Linked DNA regions of Homo sapiens: region 1 is linked to region 2. The links are contacts of gene promoters, found by promoter capture Hi-C in human tissues and cell types (Jung and others, 2019). All regions are on one chromosome and are shown on one strand. The core of a region is centred on a gene start or on the middle of the fragment in contact, and the rest is flanking DNA. Distances in the headings are between cores, read along the strand shown.

Evidence for each region. The method cuts DNA at HindIII sites, captures the fragments that hold promoters and counts their contacts. A contact is called where the count stands out against the background at its distance.
Region 1: a contact is called between a fragment that was not itself captured here and the fragment with the promoter of PRDM14 in region 2, in 1 of the 25 tissues and cell types used here (spleen).

What each region holds. Positions count from the first base shown.
Region 1 is chr8:70,675,856-70,678,555 of GRCh38, reverse strand. The region is part of intron 2 of XKR9 (XK related 9); the gene reads right to left. Among named protein-coding and RNA genes, the nearest start is that of XKR9, 7.9 kb to the right of the region's middle. The HindIII fragment of the contact is 4,521 bases long and covers 1-2,700 here.
Region 2 is chr8:70,069,809-70,072,508 of GRCh38, reverse strand. It overlaps PRDM14 (PR/SET domain 14), which reads left to right and starts at 1,257. Exons shown (of 8, transcript NM_024504.4): 1 at 1,257-1,359; 2 at 2,625-2,700. The coding sequence starts at 2,649. RefSeq lists enhancers at 304-1,033, 1,034-1,763. The HindIII fragment of the contact is 14,761 bases long and covers 1-2,700 here.

The sequences.
Region 1 (2,700 bases), core at 16-2,515, 610 kb before region 2:
GCTCAATTGAACTAATTAAATATTTACTTAGAAACTACCATGTGCTGTTTTAGGCTTTCCTGGATATATCAAGTGATGAGAGACAAATATTCCTGCCCCTGTGGAACTTATATCCTAGCACAGAAAGATAATCAAGGGGTATCTCAACTACAATGATTTGATCTTTATAAATTATATGAATGTATTAAATTATCACATGCACCTCAAAAATATGTACATCTATTATGTATCATTCTTAAACATAAAATTCAAAATATAGTCAATTAACAATAAAAAATAATTAATAAATCAAATATATTAGAAGGTGGTAAGTGCTATGGAAAAAATAAAGCATAGTAAGGAAGATCAGCAATTACAGTAGAGATGGGCATATCATGGGCTGTGACATTAATTAGATTGGTCAGGGCAGGACTCACTGAGAAGGTGGCATTTGAGTAGTGAAATTGGCCATGTGCATAGAGATGGAAAAGCCTTCCAGCTTGAAGGAACAGCTAGTTCAAAAGTCTAATGCACTAGATTTTGAATCCTTCAAAAACAAAAGTTTCAAAAAATATTGTCAGAAATTCCTTAGCATGGTTCTACTGGATATGTTTAATGTGTATACAAATCCTGTTCTAATATCATTCTTAAAAATATAATTTCTTAAGCTTTACTAAGAAAAAAATTGCTTATATAGGAGAAGAATAGATGGTAGTAATAGTAGCTACTACTGCTAGGTGTTTACTAAAAGTGAAGTTTTTTGGCATAAATTATTTCATTTAATCCTCACAAATCCCTGTGAAAACAGTATTATTGACTCCATTTTGTAGACCAGAAAACTGAGGCATAGAGGTGTTGGATATTTAGGTGAGTTTTCTCTAATGAGTAAAATCTGTTTGCCTCCAATGCTTAGGTCCTACCCACAATATACTTACACAGTATCTGAAGAGAAAACAGAAAACATTTATAGCTGTGTGAGTATAACACTTAGGCACAGCAGTCTATAGATTTGAGATAGAATACACATTATTATTGTATATTATTCTTTTCTGTAGTGAAATTAAAGGGAGAGGGGAATATAGTTAGAATTGCAAATGATGTGATCTAAACCTTTCTAAACAAAAATCTTGGCCAGGTGCAGTAGCTCACGCCTGTAATCTCAGCACTTTGGGAGGCTGAGCCAGGCAGATCACTTGAGTCCAGGAGTTCAAGACCAGCCTGGGCAACATGGTGAAACCCCACCTCTACAAAAAAAATACAAAAATTAGCCAGGCATGGTAGTGTGCTCCTGTAGTGTCAGCTACTTGGGAGGCTGAGGTGGGAGGATCATTTAAGCCCAGGAAGTGGGGGTTGCAGTGAACTGATATGGCATCGCTGCACTCCAGACTGGGCAACAAAGTGAGACCCTGTCACAAAACAAAACAAAAAAAGATTTTTTTTATTTTTTTTTAATCTTTAACTTATTTTCCACTGCTTTTTCTCAGGAAAACTTTATAGTCTGAGAACATGTTCAAAAGAATAAAACTTGACTAAAACACAATAGTTAAGCTAAAATTTTGCTTTAAATGATTTTAAATGTAGATAATTTCCTTAAAATTACAGACTATAATACTTCAGTATTCCATATGTGCATTTCTTAATCTCTCTACCCATAAAGAGAGCTTCCTTTACCTGGCAAGAGTAATAAAAATAGTAGTAGCAGGTTTGGGTTGTTTGTTTGTTTGTTTGTTTAAGAGACAGGGTCTCTCTATATTACCCAGGCTGGTCTTGAATTCCTGTGCTCAAGTGATCCTCCCACCTTAGCCTCCTGAGTAGCTGGGACTATCAGCACAGGTACCATACCTGGCCAACACTAGCAGTTTTGAGTCAACTTTTACAAGATGGAAAGAATAATTTCCAAGAAACAGAAACTGTTACTGGCAGAACATTAGATGCAATAGATTAATCTAATATGGTAATATCCATATTCCTAATTTAGTCAGGCAGAACATAACACCAAGTAGAAGGAAACCTACATAGCAAGCTAATACATACGGCGGATCTGATAAAGAGAGCTGCAGGTCTTTCAATTGTTGAATAACTTGTATTAAGAATAGTTCATCTCTATCTCTATGGTTGATCACTATTCCAGTACCACCTTAGGTAAAATAATGCCACCTACAAAGTTTGGCTTCATAGGGGACTTCTTACACTTACTGACTTAATAGGACAATGATATAATCTGAATATATGTCCCTACCAAATCTCATGTTGAATTGTAATCCCCCATGTTGGAGGTGGGGCCTGGTTGGAGGTTTTGGGTCATAGGGGTGTATCTCTCATGGTTTGGTGCTGTCCTCACGATAGTGAGTGAGATCTGGTTGTTGTAAAGCATTGCATCTCCCCCACTACTCTCTTTTTTGCTCCTGCTCTCTCCACGTGAGACACGTGCTTCCTCTTCACCTTCTGCCATGATTGTAAGCTTCCTGAGGCCTCCCCAAAAGCAGATTCTGGCACTTTGCTTCCTGTACAGCCTGAAGAACCATGAGCCTATTAAACTTATTTTCTTATAAATTACCCAGTCTCAGGTATTTCTTTATAGCAATGCAAGAATGGCCTAACACAGAAAATTGGCACCAGTAGTAAAGTTTTGCTATAAAGATACCTGAAAACATGAAAACAGTGTTAGAACTGAGTAACAGGCAGAGGCTAGAAGAGTTTGTAAGACTCAGAGAAGAAGGG
Region 2 (2,700 bases), core at 8-2,507:
GCGGGGAGACAAGGCTGAGTGCACGCCGCCCGCGCCCTCGAAGGCTCTAGTCCCACTCCTTCCTCCCTTCTTGCAGCCCCGCCGCGCCCTGGCGAAGGCTACAGGGTCAGGTTCCCCGCACCGAGGAGCCCAGAAGCCCGGCTGCGGGCGCTCTGAAGATCCGGGACCCCGGCCTCCGTCCCCCGCCAGCTTTAGGGACTCTGGCGGCGTCTCTTAGCCGGGTAGATGTTCCTCCTTTCCCTCTCTCTTCCAAGCCGCTGCCAGGCCGGGGGTGAGGCTGCACCTCAGTCTTCAGCCCCGAAGGCCGCGCCCGGGGCGGGTCGCTCCCCATTCAGCTAAGAGGAAGCAGCGGCCGGGGGGCAGGCGAGGAACCTGTCCCGGCTCACCCGGCAAGACTGCGTTTCCCCCACCCTCGGCGCTTCTTTCTGTGAATGTGAATGGAACTAAGCGTTCCTTTCTCTCCCTCAATGGCCGGCGAGGAGAATTCAAATGCGGTCTTTGGGCGCTCGGTATGGGTCTGGACCTTGGTTTTCAGAGCCTGCGCGTCCAAGGTCGCTAGCCTTTCCCGAAGGAAGTGACAGCTGCGGCGGCGCGGGAGGCCCATCCTCGGTCGTTTAAAGCCACTTAAGGAATAAAAGCCCCCGAGAGAGCAAAACGACCACCCGAAACCTCGGAAGCGTCGGGGGTGCCGGGCCCAACGCTCCCACGTGTCACTGCCGGGGACTCGCGAGGCGAAGCTTCCCAGCGCTCAAGGCGCTCCCGCCTCGTCCCCAGGTATCAGGAACAGACACCCACCAGGTCCACCAGCGGGTCAGACGCCGCCTTCGGGCAGGCTGGGATCTTCCGAACTGGGAGCGGAGAGTAAGGGGCTCGACCCCGGGACGCGAGTCCGGCCTTCTGGACTCCGGTTCAGGGTGTGTGTGCGCGCGGAGGGGCTTATCTGGGGGCCCTGGGTAGCACACGTGTTCGGTTTTTTTCTCCCCGACTCCGCACGCCTGGAGCGGCAATACTGCCTGCCCTAGAAGGCCAGCGGCGAGTGCTCGCCACTAGGGTCCCAGGGAGGGTTTGGAAAACTGATGAGTTAAGTGAGCGACCCCAGGGGACAGAGGGCGAGTCGAGAGTCGGCCAATGGCTGCGGTGGGCGGGGAGAAGACGACGCGGGGATCTGCGTGGGCCGGGTCAATTCCCTACCCTCGACCTGTCGATGCCCCGCGGCCCCGCCCGCCCTCTTAAGCCTGGCTCAGCCCTCAGGGCCCGCCCGAAGTCTACCGAGCCCGAGTGGCCTACCGAGCCCGAGTGGCCCCGCAGCGTCCAGGAGGCGCCCGCTCCGCGGTGGCGCTCTTGGAGGTGGTGTCGGAGGTAGGCACGGGACAGGACGCGCCTGGGGCCCGGGGCGGTGGTCTTCCAGGGCCGTTGGGGAGGGCGGCAGCACTCGCTGGCGCAGTTCGTTTTGGATGGTCGTTCTGCCCTCTCGGGGGCTTTGAATCCCAAGTTGCAGATCCCTGAGGTCGGAGGAGGCTAGGAGAAGGGCGCCTTTGGAGGATCGGGAGGAGACGGGCCGCTGCCTGTGTCGTGGCTGACCTCTTCTCCTGACCCCGTGTTCTTTAATTTCTGAGTCATGACCCTGCTTGGTTTTCTTATTGGGCTCATTGATCTCAAGACCCGCCGGCCCTGAAGGGGCTTCATTCTTCAGCCTCGGTGAACTTGCTGCCTGTCTATTAAAACGCCATCCTTTCCCGGCGGTGCGGGGGCGGGAGGACTGGCAGTCGCCGAGGCTCTTCGCTCCCACCTGGCCAGGGCTCGTCCACGCGGCTCCCGAGGGGCTACCCCAGGCCCCAATAGTCCTGGTAGAATGATTGGAGTTTCCGAGGAACCCGGGGAATGTGGCGGACGCTGCCCGCGAGGGAAAAGAGGTTCAGGCGGCGCATCCTAGGGCAGCCAAAAGTGGCGCGCCCCTCCCCTGCGGGCAGTCAGGACCGCCAGGACCCGCGGGGTCACACCGCTGGGCCAGAGCAGGTCGCGGGGTCCCTGGACCTGCCCGGGGGCTCTGGGAGCGCGTCTCCATCTGCGCGGTGCGACCCAGGGTCCTCGGCTCTTCCCTCCCAGCCGAGGGCCCAGGAGCGCCTGGAGCTGTCGCTTGCTCCATTGCCCTCCGACCGCCTGCGCTCGGCTCCCGGCCCAGCCCCGAGGTTGGCAGGGCCCCGCGGCTCCCACAGACCCTACCAACGAGTTTTGTAGGACTGAGAAGAAGGAAGGAAAGGGAACTTCAATGGGTTTTGCAGGAACCGGGTTGGGGGCCGAAAGCGGAGAGCGGGTGTGGGAAGGCGGCCGGGCTTAGGGAAGGGGTGCTTGGAGAGGGAAGGGGAAGGCAACACTAACCCGGAATTTAGAGTAGGGCAGGATCCCGGCAGATTTCCGTTTGGGGCTTTTTTGTGTTTGCTTCTATTGCTGTTTTTTCGTTTTGTCTTAATTGTGGGAGCGGGCTGGCGGGATCGGACTGGGGGCGTTTATCCTGTTCCCTTGGATCTGGGGCTGGCTGGGGTGGAGGAGGCTGGTGGGGAGGCGCGGGTCGGACCCCGGGAAGCTCCCGCGCGGTGTCCTCAGCGGCGCCCGCTTTTCTGCAGAGCCGCCGAGCGTGCGGTCCCGGGATGGCTCTACCCCGGCCAAGTGAGGCCGTGCCTCAGGACAAGGTGTGCTACC